Regions from separate parts of the Homo sapiens genome. Here region 2 is linked to region 1. The links are contacts of gene promoters, found by promoter capture Hi-C in blood cells and fetal thymus (Javierre and others, 2016). All regions are on one chromosome and are shown on one strand. The core of a region is centred on a gene start or on the middle of the fragment in contact, and the rest is flanking DNA. Distances in the headings are between cores, read along the strand shown.

The links. The method cuts DNA at HindIII sites, captures the fragments that hold promoters and counts their contacts. A CHiCAGO score of 5 or more calls a contact.
Region 2: a contact is called between a fragment that was not itself captured here and the fragment with the promoter of NEIL2 in region 1, in 1 of 17 cell types (M2 macrophages). The highest score is 5.6, in M2 macrophages.

The regions. Positions count from the first base shown.
Region 1 is chr8:11,767,027-11,773,698 of GRCh38, reverse strand. NEIL2 (nei like DNA glycosylase 2) reads right to left here and starts at 3,989. Exons shown (of 5, transcript NM_145043.4): 1 at 3,364-3,989; 2 at 2,114-2,253. The coding sequence starts at 2,251. It overlaps LOC124901888 (a long non-coding RNA gene), which reads left to right and starts at 2,249. Exons shown (of 2, transcript XR_007060824.1): 1 at 2,249-2,821; 2 at 3,291-4,897. RefSeq lists silencers at 3,599-3,728, 3,769-4,178 and an enhancer at 3,339-3,839. The HindIII fragment of the contact is 12,492 bases long and covers 3,405-6,672 here.
Region 2 is chr8:11,533,539-11,540,068 of GRCh38, reverse strand. The region is part of intron 1 of BLK (BLK proto-oncogene, Src family tyrosine kinase); the gene reads right to left. Among named protein-coding and RNA genes, the nearest start is that of BLK-AS1, 21 kb to the left of the region's middle. RefSeq lists enhancers at 979-1,058, 2,219-2,448 and a silencer at 1,741-1,905. The HindIII fragment of the contact is 3,186 bases long and covers 1,453-4,638 here.

The sequences.
Region 1 (6,672 bases), core at 2,740-5,239:
CTCACCCTGCTCACTCCACCTCCATCGGCCCGCCTGTAACTGCTTCTCAAGCCTGAAATGCCCTTTCCTCCCTCTTCAGTCCACTGAAATCCTCCAGCCTTCAAGGCCCAACTCAAGTCCTACCTCCTGCACATCTTCTCCAGGCCACCGGGACCTCTTCCTGTCAGGGTCATTACCTGGGCCTTTATGATGTGCTCTGCCCTCCCCATTTAGCATAGCTTAATAGTGTGGCCTGTGTCGATACAAGCCGTATGTTCTCAATTCAGTTCTAAGTTCCTAGGGTCAGGGACCCGCCGACAGGGAGAAGCAGGGAAGGGCGCTCACTTCAAAGCACTGCCAGGCAGCCCCGAAGGTTCCCTGCAACCTTAGGTTCCCTGCAACATGGTTTTCTGCTTGGTTTACTGGGAAAGCAGCTCCCAGTCCCGTCTACGGGTTCCTTCACCGCACATCCATCTGCCCACCCATCCACTTGGGAAATATTCTCTTACAGCCAGCTCTGTGGCAGACACCCTGGTAAGTGCTGGGGATCCAGAGACAAGAGACAATTCTGCCCCTGCAAACCTCGAAGGACAGTGTGTACAAAGAGGCCACAGTCCTGGAGGCCATGGGACCCCGTGCTCTCACCTGTTCCTTGCCAGCCACCTGAGCTTGGGCTAAGTACTCCCTTCTCCGAGCCTCAGTCTCCAAAGGAATCAACTATGGGTACAGGGCTACAGGATCTCTTCCAGTTCTAACTAACAACGGTTTTAAAACCTCTGTGTGTGTGTGTTGCGGGGGTGGGGGGTGAGGGCAAGATGGAAGAAAGGGAACTAGTACTTATGGAGTACCCGTTATGTGCCAGGCATAAACTCTACTTAAAACAACAACTTTAAGAGGTCAATGGCTTATCTCCATTCTACAATAGAAGAAAGAGCTATGAGATGAACATGCTTAAGAGCACACGGCTAAGCAGCAGCAGAGCGCGTGAGCTCATCCACAGGCACCACCCGTGCTTCCTACGTGCCGGCACTCAGCTAAGTGCTGGGGGCACAATACTGGCGAGGAGCAGCCCCTGCCCTCTGCATCTGTCCTCTCCCCTCAACAAGCAGAACAACTCAGTAAAAAGGGAAGAACAGGAGGAAGTACATGATGTCCTGGAAGCACAGAGATGGAGTCTCCTTCCCACCTAAAGCAGACAGGGCAGGCTTCTCTGAGGATGCAATGGCCAAGTGGAAGCTGGAAGACCAGGAATTACCATTATAAATTGAGGGAACAGGGGCAGAGTTGGGAGAAAAAGGAAGAAGTGCTTGAGCAGGGGGCAGCAAGTGAAAACCACGGACAGAAACACTAAGAAGAGCCAAAGGCAGTTTCATCGATCAGAAGACAGGTTTGGGGCAGGATAAGAAGGCTAGAGAGGGAGGCAGTGGTGAGAAAACAGGGAGCTCCGTGAGCCCCTGGAAGGATGAGCTGGTTTGAACCTAGATCTGAAGGTTCTGCTCTTTTCTTTTCTTTTTTTTGAGACGGAGTCTCACTCTGTCACCCAGGCTGGAGTGCAGTAGCACAATCTCATCTCACTGCAATCTCGGCCTCCCGGGTTCAAGCAATTCTCCTGCCTCAGCTTCCCGAGCAGCTGGGATTACAGGCGCCCACCACCACACCCAGCCAATTTTTGCATTTTTAGTAGAGACGGGGTTTCATCATGTTAGCCAGGCTGGTCTTGAACTCCTGACCTAGTGATCCACCCGCCTCGGCCTCCCAAAGTGCTGGGATTACAGGTGCGAGCCACCGTGCCCAGCCGGTTCTGCTCTGTCCTTAATTCTCCACTGGCTCAGGGGAATAGAACACAGTTCCCAGCCAAAGGTGCCCATCAGCTGCGGCCGGAGAGAATAGGAGCACTCCAGACCCTCTGAATCGGGGTCTCCAGCTCATCCACACGTGTTCTTTACAGTTCTACAGTCCACAGCGATATCTACTTCTGGCTGAGACACGTGAGACTGAAAGAGGGAGCTGCATGGAGTCCGAGCTTGGTGGTTCCGGACTCAGGGAAGTGACACCCTGAGACATATGGGGATAGATCCTAGGGGAGGCGCAGGATGGGCGACAGAGCCAACCCTTCAGAGGAGTATTACCTCACCTGGGTGTCCTGGAGCCACAGAGACTGCAGGCTGGCGGGCTGTAGCTTCTTACTGCTGCCCCCTGTCTTGACCACCTGCTGACCCACAAAGGGGGAGACCAAATGGTGAAATTTCCTCACCAACGGCCCTTCTGGCATCCCTGTGGGCAGAAATGGGCAAAAGAGGCCACCGACTTAGCTCATTTATCTCTAGCATCTTTAACAGGTGCCAAGCATCCTCCATGCCGCCATTTTTGCTGCCAACTAACTTTAAGAGCAAGCATGGCCAAAAAGGGAGTGTGGCTGGGAGGCGGTCAGATCATAGAGAAGAGCAGCTGTGGCAGGGTGTGGGAAACGTAGCAGGAAAGGCAGCCCCTCTTACCTTTCTTCATGCAGCAAACACTTATTAAGCACCAACAGTGTGCTAGGCAGCACATCATGGGCACCATCCACTTTATTCCTGAGCGGCACCTGCCACACCAGGAGCTGGCCTTTGTTACTTTTTGCCTGGACTGTGAACCTCTAACACCTCCTGACTTTCTCTGTCCCCCTGCTCCCGCTCTCAAAAAACAGCCATTCTGACCCACTGCTGCCGACTTATTTCCCACTTTTGAAGGGACCAGATGCCGCCCTCCAGGACCGCCGACCACTAGCGTGGGGGAGGTGTGCATGAAACGACCAACACGCAGACAGAGCTCAGAATCATAAGTGAGACCCCCAGCCACGTAGGTAAGCCCGGCATAGCTACAGACAGTTATCTCTGATCCCCGAGAAACAGCTGTGGTTCTGTTCTAATCACCACGCAGGGCTCCCAGGGCCACCTCTACTCTCCCTGCCCCCAAATCATCCCAGTCCACTGACAGCCGCCTACATGAGGCAGTCTGAGTGGTGTACACCCGGGCTGTTCGGGCAGAGGAGACTCCCAGCCTCACCCGGGGCAGCTGCCTAACCACCTGTTCCTGCACCAGCCTCTCTATAAGTTATGATGAAAATCGAAAAGAACTAAGTAGATATCGGGCAGGGGGTAGCTATTATATTTCAGTGATTCTAAAAAACATTTTAGAATACTTTTAAAATCTAAGAAATGGTGACGGCTCACAATCTCGGCATTCTCATATTCGGCAGCAGCACATTCAATAACGCGCATCTTACACTCGCTGGTGCCGATTCGCTGAGATGTACTATTTCCCCTCATCAGGCTTTCCAGACACTCCCCAGGGAATCCTGACAAAACCGCCAGGCTGGAAGGAGACGTGCCAAACGCTGCTGACCTTAACCAGTTGGATGCCTGATCCTCTTCTACGGGGAAGCTTCTGGAAAAGCCTTCATCTGAAATGCACCAAGTCCTGAAAATCTCCGGACACGTGGGCATGTTTCGTTTAGGGATTTTTATGGAGATGGACAGGTGGGAAGCAAGCCGCCTCTGCAACAGCCTTGAAAGATGAGACGCGGAAGGGACTTCGAAGAGTCGCTGAAGATGCCGCGCCCACCCTCCGGCCCTCCCTGCCCGGGGGCTACCGAGGAGCTCGAGGCTGGCGCTGCGCCAGCCAGGGAAGAGGAGGGGTTGTCTCCGCCGTTCTCTTCCGAGTGCCCGAGGTGGGGGGTCTAAGACCACTGCTTTCCCAACTCTGCCTCGGGGTGCGGGGAGAGGGGCGCAGACGCGGGTCTGAGGGTCAGTGGGGGCCTCCAGGCGTGGGCAGCACCTCCGCAGGCGGCTGAGACGGAGGAGGGCCCGGGGCCCGCCCTCCCTTCCTGTCCCCTCCCGACTTCTCCGCCAGGCCGCAGATCTACCGGAGGGCGGGCGGCTGCACTCACCGGCTCCGGGTGGGTGGCACGTCGGCCCGACCCAGCACCGCTACGCAGCCCGCACAGCCGCTCCAGCTGGGGGCGGAGATTTCCCGGCTCGGCGGCCCATGCGGCCTCCGTCCCCTTAGGGGACGCCCCTGTAGGTGGAGGCTGCGGGGCTCCTCCCCCAAGTGGGCGTGGACTCCGGCCTGGAGGGGGTGGCGGGGTGCGCGCAGGCGCAGGGCTCATTCCCTGGAAAGTGGGTCTAGGTCGAGGCTGCTCTTTTGTGGGTGGGCGAGGGGTTCCATCCCGGGGGTCGCTGGAGGCAGGGCTGCATTAGAGGGTCGCGAGTGAAAGCAGGGATGGAAGAAGGGTGCAGGCTGGGACTAACATTGGAGAGACGCTCTTGGAAACTTTTTTTTTTTGCGGGGGGAGATAGTCTCGCTGTGTCACCCAGGCTGGAGTGCAGTGGCGCGATCTCGGCTCACTGCAACCTCCGCCTCCTGGGCTTAAGCCATTCTCCTGCCTCAGCCTCCCGAGTAGCTGGGATTACTGGCGCCCGGCTAATTTTTGTATTTTTAGTAGAGACCGGGTTTCACCATGTTGGCCAGGCTGGTCTTGAACTCCTGATCTCAGGTGAGCCGCCCTCCTCGGCCTCCCAAAGTGGTGGGATTACAGGCGTGAGCCACCGCACCCGGCCCTTTTGGAACATTTCTTGTCTCAAGGAGACAGTTATAGGGAAAAGTCAATGGGTGTGTGAATGGGACAGCCTGGGTGTTCCCACAATGGCAAGCCTTTCTGTGGGTTCTGCTTGGCCTCCGAGCCTAATGAAGTCGGGTGCAAAGGAAACAGGTGTTCAAGACTCGTGAAATGTTGAACGGGTGGGATTTTTTTGCTTTCTATTATTTGAATTTTATTACTTGAATTTTTACTATAAGCAAATTTTGCTTAAAGTATTTGTGTATTAAATTTTTTATTTCATAGAATAAAAGAGATAAAACAATAGGCTGTTTAAAGATACATATGTTTTCTTGTCTTTAGTTCTCGAAGGAGGATGGGGAGCCAGCACTTTCCAGGAAGTTGGGAGGAAAGTCTGGGGAACTCCCCAGCAGGTGTTCAGGAAATAGGCTGGGGTGAAGTCACCATGGACCCTAGCTGAGGGGTCCCTGGGGAAGGACTTGGTCAGCACAGGGAAACAAGCCCAGCCCACCGTCAGAGACATGGTTGTGTCCTACTGATTGAGAGGGAGGTTACAAGTGGCCTTCCCACAGTGGTCACCTACTGAACAGGCTAGGGCAGGAGGTGAGGAGAGGGAGGCCTGGGGAGGCCTAGGGTATAGGGTCCTCATCTAGAAAGGCATCTGGAGGCAGAGGGGATGAGGTTGGAGGGCATGGGGTTTGCAGGAGGCATCCCTTGAAGAGCCTCTGGTCCCCCTCTTTCTATGTCCGGCCTTTTCTGGAGAATAACGACCCCCCCACCCCCAGGATGCCCCTGCTATAGGATCAGGCTCACCACAATGGTAGCTTCTGGGCCCCCTAGTTTCTCTTTCTGTAGAGTGGCTGAGCCGGGAGGGAAGCCGTAGCCACAGTCCTCGCCTTACCTGGTGGAATGAATGCCTGGTGCCTAAAGGGGTTCTTCTGAGGCTAAGGGGCTATGCAATTGAAAATCTCATGGTTCACAGCTTGGCTCTGTCATTGATTGTTATTGTTTATTGAGCGCGTACTATGTGCAAAACACTGTTGTGAGCTCTTTGCATATATTGCTTCATTATTAGTTGTGGGGATACAAGCAAGTCACAGTATCTCTGACTTCATTCATTAAATGGGATATCTATTAAATGGTATTATAGAAATATCACAAAGCCACGCTTCTCAAACTTCAATGTACCTATGAATCCCCTGGGAACCTTGTTTAAATGCAGATTCTAAGGTCTATACCAGGGCCCAAGATGTTGCCTTTCCAGCAAGCTGCTGGGTGACGCTGATGCTGTGGTCTAGGGGCCACATTTTTGTTTTGTTTTGTTTTCCGTGACATAGTTTCACTCTTGTTGCCCAGGCTGGAGTGCAACCCAGGCACGATCCCAGCTAACTGCAACCTCTGCCTCCTGGGTTCAAGGGATTCTCCCGCCTCAGCCTCCCAAGTACCTGGGATTACAGGCACGCACAAGCATGCCCAGCTAATTTTTGTATTTTTAGTAGAGACAGGGTTTCTCCATGTTGGCCAGGCTGGTCTCGAACTCCTAACCTAGGTGATCCTCCCTCCTTGGCCTCCCAAAGTGCTGGGATTACAGGTTTGAGCCACCGCGCCCGGCCCTAGGGGCTACATTTTGAGCAGCAAGAATTTAGAGCATCAGCTATTGGCAGTTGGTAGACACTCAACAAATTGAGTGAATGATTCAATTCATCCATGTTATGTGAATGATTAAATGAGATACTAGCTAAGAAACACACATAAACTGTAAGTATATGCAAGTGCTATGCAAGCATATGCAATCATCATTCTAAGACAAAAAGGCTGAATAATCTGCCTGGAAAAGGCCAGCCTAGAATAGTGACTCCACAGAGGAGTGGCTAGAAACCTGCTCCCATACCAGGCTGCCTGGGTCCACATCCCACCACTCAGCTGGGAGAGCCTGGGCAAGTAACTCACTCTTTCTGCATCTCAGTTTCTTCATCTGTAAATTATGACCTTACTGATTTATTTTCTTTCTTTCTTTCTCTTTCTCTTTTTCTTTCTTTCTTTCTTTCTTTCTTTCTTTCTTTCTTTCTTTCCTTCCTTCCTTCCTTCCTTCCTCC
Region 2 (6,530 bases), core at 1,796-4,295, 230 kb after region 1:
AGAACAAAAAAAGTACAAATTCATAAACATTAAAAATATTAGATGGTATAAGAAACTACTCATGAAGTTCGTAGATAAGCAATAGATTGGGTAAGAGATTGCAAAGCATCAGATAAATGTGTATTCATAATATATACAAAGCTCATAAACTTTTGACAGGAAGTATATTGCAGCATATAATTCATTCAATAGAAAAATGTGTAAAGATAAGAAATAGGAAGTTAGTGCAACACAAACCCAAATAGTAAAATGTTTGTTATAATTATTGTTTCATTTGTTCCTTCACGCTCCATTTCTAGGATTAATCTTCTGTGAGAGCTGGAATCTTTGTTTTATTCATTGCTGAATCCAAATTGCTAAACCAATGTCTGGCACAGAGTGTGGGCTTAATAAATATTTATTAGACAAAACATGAAATATTATTGGAAGAAGCAATCTTTTAAATTCTTTTAAAGGGCAATCTTTTAAATTCTGTTAAAATAAAAAAGCACACATACCTTTTGATTTTCAGTCCCACTCTGGACTATCTCAGGTTAATAAAACATCATTATATAGACACATGTGAGAGATGAAAATGTTTGTTGTAGTAATAGTTGGAAAAACAATCCCCTCCCCCGAAAAAAAATCCCAAACAGAAAACAACAATGTAACTGCCCAGCAATTGAAGACTTGTTGAATAAATCTACACTCTATAAATCTCTCATACAACTACTAAAAAAAATGTGCTGGATCTTCACCAGTGAGGTCAAGAGGAATTTCGGTACCATGTTGTTACACGAGAAAAGTAAGACCCAAAGAGGTGCATGAGGGAATCCCATATTTGCAAACACCAAATGAAAAGAAACCTCTATTCAGGCGTGTAGATATGTTTGCATATTACACAGAAAGAGGCTGGGGAGGATGAACACCAAGTTGTTTACTGTGGTTATTGTTAGAGGAAGGGAGAGTACAAAACAGAGGTGTGGTGTAAGGCAAAACAAAACAAAAAAAAAACCAGCGGACTTAAAAAACGGTGTGTGTGCTAATGCAAAGCAGGTCCCACCAAAGTATTTTCTAAATGGATTTTGGATTATAAGACTTCATGTGACTTTGACTTTCTTTCTTTTAATTGTATATATTTCTTAAATTCTTTAATACTAAGCATATATTATTGATACAAGCAGAAAAATAAAAGGAGGATTTGAGTGATTTGCCCAGCAACAGAGGAGCATAAGGCCTGGAGCCAGGGCCAGCCTGCAGTTCTTGACAATGACCGTTAAGTGGCCAGCCAGGGCTGCCTGAACCTCAGGCCTTTCGTGGCCTCTCTCAGCCTCCCTGACTCAACGAAGGGCCAGTGGTCAGCAGCTCCTAGTATATTCCCCAGACTTGGACTCATACTTCCGCATCTGCCCAGGTGACCAGCCCTCTTGTCTTTCTTAGTCTGGCCAGCCATATTGCCATTGACTTTAAGCTTCCTGGCAAACACCTGTGTCCACTGAGACAACATAATTGAACATTGGTTGTTCAATTTATTGAACAAAGAACCGGACAGAAAGTAAAATTCCTAAGATTAAATGACCCACTACTTACACTTCTGTCCTTTGACTCCTTAGCAGTGTGTGTGCAGATGATTTTCCATGGGTCTCATGAGTACCTCAGGTCTCTATGGGTCCCCCTACTCCAGTGGCTTTGACTGGAGACCTGGGTTCCTCAAGAGGCCATGGGACAACCAGGGCTGTCACTGGTGCTCGGGCTGCACCCAGCAGTTTCAGGTTGGGTGAAGCCAGGAAGTGCAGAAGTCCAGACAGAGGCAAAACGCATCACACACTGGCTGGGGCTCCAGATGGCTTTGCTGCATTGTGGGAAGGGTGTGAGTCTGTGTATGTTTGTGAGAGAGTGGGAGAGGAAGCATACACACTTATGTGCACTTGTGTGTGTGTGAGAGCGAGAGCATGCGTGTGAATACACATGTGTGTATGTGCTTGAATATGTGTGTGTATATATGTGTGTGTGTGTCTATGTGTGCACGTGTATATGCATGTGTGAGAGAGCATGCATGTGCACCGTGTGCATGTGTGTCTAGTCGGGGGAGTCAGCAAGAGGAGGGGAAGTGGGAAAGGGGAGTTGTTTGTTTATTTGAAACCAGCTAGGCCCTCTAATGCAGACTTTCACCAGAGCAGGGCAGTCAATGTTTGCTTTGGGAGATGCTCAAAGCCTGAAACACAGCTTCAGTCAAACAAGGGGTGTGGTGGAGGCATCAACTAAAAATAGAGAAACTAGAAACCCCTTATTTGCACTTGGCTAGCATGACATGGTTGAAAAGCACTTGACGGATAACGAGTTTTTCTTTTTTTCTAATACATGTTAGCCTTGATAAATTGGTTACAGTTATCCTCATTTTACCACTGAAGAAGGCGAGGCGAGGTGGCTTGGTAAGGTCATGCTGAAGGTGGCAGAGCTGGCAGCTGGAGGGTGTTACTGTCTCCAGGGCTGCTTGAGCCCTCTGCACAAAACAGGTGCACCTGTGGCCCTGCCTGAGGCTCTGTGTCCCTTGGAGGGGACAGTTCAGATTCCCTATCATCTCCCCTGTGGCAAAATAGTTTTGCTATTTTGTATCTGGAAGCCTTGCCATGTTATGTGCTGGAGGCTTTGCCTTTCTGATTTGACCTGCCAGACATAGGTGGGTAGCATCCAGGTAGAACAGGGGTACCTACTGGCAAAGCTGGGACTCACCCTGGGTGTCGCGATCACAATGCCATGCTAGCTGCCGGCATGAGATCCCATATGGAGCATCTCACCAACATCCAGAATTCCAAATTCTCCCAGTACAAACCACCAATGCTATACTCATCTTGTAAATGAAGAAAGTACGGTGATTGGCCTATGGCTCTGAATTAAAGAAGGGGCCAAAGAATTTGAGTTAAAATTCATGTTTCATGTCTCAACTCAGGACAACACCACTGAAATGAGGCTTCCTCACCTTTGCCCTAATACTGACCTCTCCACATGTGAACCTGAAACAGCCCCGATAACAGTTCCTAGCAACGAGGTTCTTCTATTCATTCAGCCACAGACATTCAGTTGCTGTCAACCATGAACTATGTCAGGCATAGCGGAAGGTACAGGCATGAAACAAGGATGGAGCCCACTCTCACAGGAAAATAAGGAGGAAAGGCATGCACCCGATTCCATCAGTTCAGAGTGGGCATGATTCTGTACCAAAGAGAGGCCTGGGTAAAGTGTTTTGTGAGCTCAGCAAAAAGAAATTACTTCCACCTGGGAGAAAACGCTAGCCAGACCTGAGAAGGATGGCTACAACAGATTTTTTTAGATGAAAACTATTTTTTATGAAACCTTCCAAAATATACTAAAGTCAAGAATATTGGCCAGGCACAGTGGTTCATGCCTGTAATCCCAGCACTTGCGAGGTTGAGGTGGGAGATCATTTGAGGTCAGGGGTTTGAGACCAACCTGGCCAACATGGTGAAACCCCGTCTCTACCACAAATACAAAAATTAGCCAGGCACGTGCCTATAAAAATTAGCCAGGCGCATGCCTGTAATCCCAGCTACTTGGGAGGTTGAGGTGGGAGAATCGCTTGAAACCAGGAGGTGGAGGTTGCAGTGAGCCAAGATCCTGCCACTGCACTCCAGCCTAGTTGACAGAGTGAGACTGTCTCAAAAAAATAAATAAAATAATAATATTAATAATAATAGAACTCTTCTACACTCATCACCCACATTCAATAATTATCTTTAAAATTGTTTTCTGGGTTGCAGTATTTTACATCATATCGTTTTATTTCCTCTAAATGAATGAAACTTGGAAACAACATGAAATCAATGTAGTGAAGCAAGTCATTTCACCACCCCATATTTTGCATTTGTTTCTAAAGCATGGAGACATTTGCTCACATAACCCCAATGTTACTTCATCACATCTAACAAAACTAGCAATATTTCCATGGTATCATCTAACCATCCAGCCATTGAACCCAATTCATAATCACATTTTAACAATTGACTTAAAAATAGCTTCTTGCTTAGTTTGTCCTACTCAGGATTCAAACAAGGTTCGTATATAACTCAACGTCTTAGGTTTCCTTTAAACAGGAGTCCCTTCTGCTCTGACTTTGGTTAGTTTCAAGCCTTTGATTTGTAAAGGCCAGTCCTATAGAATGTTCTCCATTTTGGATTTTGCGTCCTTGTGATGGTTCATCACTTGCTCTTCCCTCTCGTCCTTCTTACACATAGAGTTACCTCTGTAGGCTCCATTAGATTCAAGCTCAGCCCCTCTTGGTAGAGATGCTGTCGAGGAGGTGATCTGTGCTCCATGTTGCATCCTACCAGGAGGCTCACAGTGTTTACCTGCACCATTTTAGTGATGCTAAGATAGGTCGAGGCTCAGGCATCCCTATTCCTCCATTGACAAGTTCCTCACCGACATTTAAAAGTCCCATTAGTGGTTACAAAATGGGCGTGCTCTGATTCCATCAGTCCTTCCACACTTGTTAGTTGGGAGTTGAAAGAGCAAAGGATGAGAAACTGGGAACACTAGAAAAAAATACCAGGCACACTCCCAACAGGGTTGGGTAGTATTTCAGAAATAGGTGTTTTTCCAAACACATGAAGATAGAAAACACGTTCAGAAAACAAAGCTTTTCCATTGCTGGATTGTAGAGTGTGTGCTACAGTCATTCACAGCTAATGCTTTGTGCAATATATCCCTTCCTTTCCTTTCCTTCCTTCCCTTCCCTTTTCCTTCTCTTTCTTTCTTTCTTTCTTTCTTTCTTTCTTTCTTTCTTTCTTTCTTTCTTTCTTTCTTTCTTCTTTCTTTCTTTCCTTTCCTTCTTTTCTTTTTCTTTCTTTCTCTCTCTTTCTTTCTTTCTTTCCTTCTTTCTTTCTTTCTTTCATTCATCTGTCTGTCTCTTGTCACCCAGACTGGAGTGCAGAGGCGTGATCATGGCTCACTGCAGCCTTGAACTCCTGGGCTCAAGTGATCCTCCCACCTCAACCTCCCGAGTAGCTAGGACCACAGGCACGTGCTGCCATGCCTGGCTAATTTTTTAAACAATTTTATGTAGAGGTGGGATTTCATCATGTTGCCCAGGCTGGTCTTGAATGCCTGGACTCAAGCAATCCTCCCACTTCAGCCTCCCAAAGTTCTGGGTTGGATACAGGCATGAGCCGCTGCATCTGGCCTCCTTGTGCAATACTTTTAAATGCCAGCAGAATCTTTTCCCAGCACTAGCACAGAGCCTGATGGTGAGAGGCTGCTCTGTAACACCTGGCTGGGTGTGTAAGGGCCTTGGGCACGTGTGGCCCCTGCAAAAGGCTGACCTAGCAATGCCAACCTGTGACTTTTAGGTACTTCGGCACAGTTAGGAGGAGAAATTATGTGGCCATTTCAATTTTTTAAAGTGAAAAGATCTTTTGTGGAAATTCACCTCCCCCCATTGTGGTAAAATTGATAGAAAAGATTTTCAGGTGGTAAAAAGTTTGAGGGTGCTGAGCAGACCTTCAGGAAGGAAGGAAGAAGGCATTTTTATAAAGCTGTGTTAAGTCAAAGACAGACACTTGTTTATCGAGTCACCTACATTTGATTCTGCTAACAGAGAAGCTTGAAATTCATTAGGTAATTCTGGGGACGGATAAAATTCCTTTATGTGAGTGAATTTTTTTGGGGGGGGAACACCATGTAAATTTATGTTTTAAAAAACTCTCACAGTAGTGATTATTAAAATATGTTAGCAATATGCCAAAATGTTAATCCAACTACAGTTGTGTCTTGTATTGATGAGACTATGGGCCTTAACCTATTTTTCAATTTTTAACTTTTTGCATTGTTTGCATTTTGAAAAATTAAATGAGAAATCAAATCATGGGTCATTACTTCCCAATGGAGTCAGTTATGATTCTTTGGCACAATAGTTCTGAAACCTCAGTTTGTATTTTAACCAGCAGGGGAGTTTGCAGACTCCCAACCCCAGCCCCAGCAGTGCTGGTATCTGCATTTTTAAAAAATGCCCCCAGTGATGCTGATGCAGGCAGGTCATGAGCTCCACTTCATGGAGACCCTTTCTTCAATTGGCCGAGCTTCTGGATCATGACTTGTGACAAGGATTGAAAGGCAGGCCCGCCAACACGGGGCATTCCCTCCTTTGAGTCTCCCATAAATAATGCCTGCAGTTTTACTGCCAGTGATCCTCTTGTCTCTCCATGAAATGAATTATTTCTGTCCTCCATACAAACATTTCTTACATATTAGTATATTTCTGCATAGCTTTTTGACAGAGGGAAATAACTTCCCTTTTTATAATAACTCACACCTCTGTGGTACTTTCCAGCCTGCAAAGCATTTTCCCACATGAGCCTCATGAGGACCCTGTAAACTAGATAGATCCTCCCCCTCCCCATCTCCCTCCCTCTCCCCCTCCGTCTCCTCCACCTCCCCTTCCCCCTCCTCCTACTCCTCTCCTCCTCCTTCTCCTCCTCCTCCTCCTCCTCCGGCAGACAGGGAAGAAACTGAAGCACAGAAGAGAGATTTGAGCC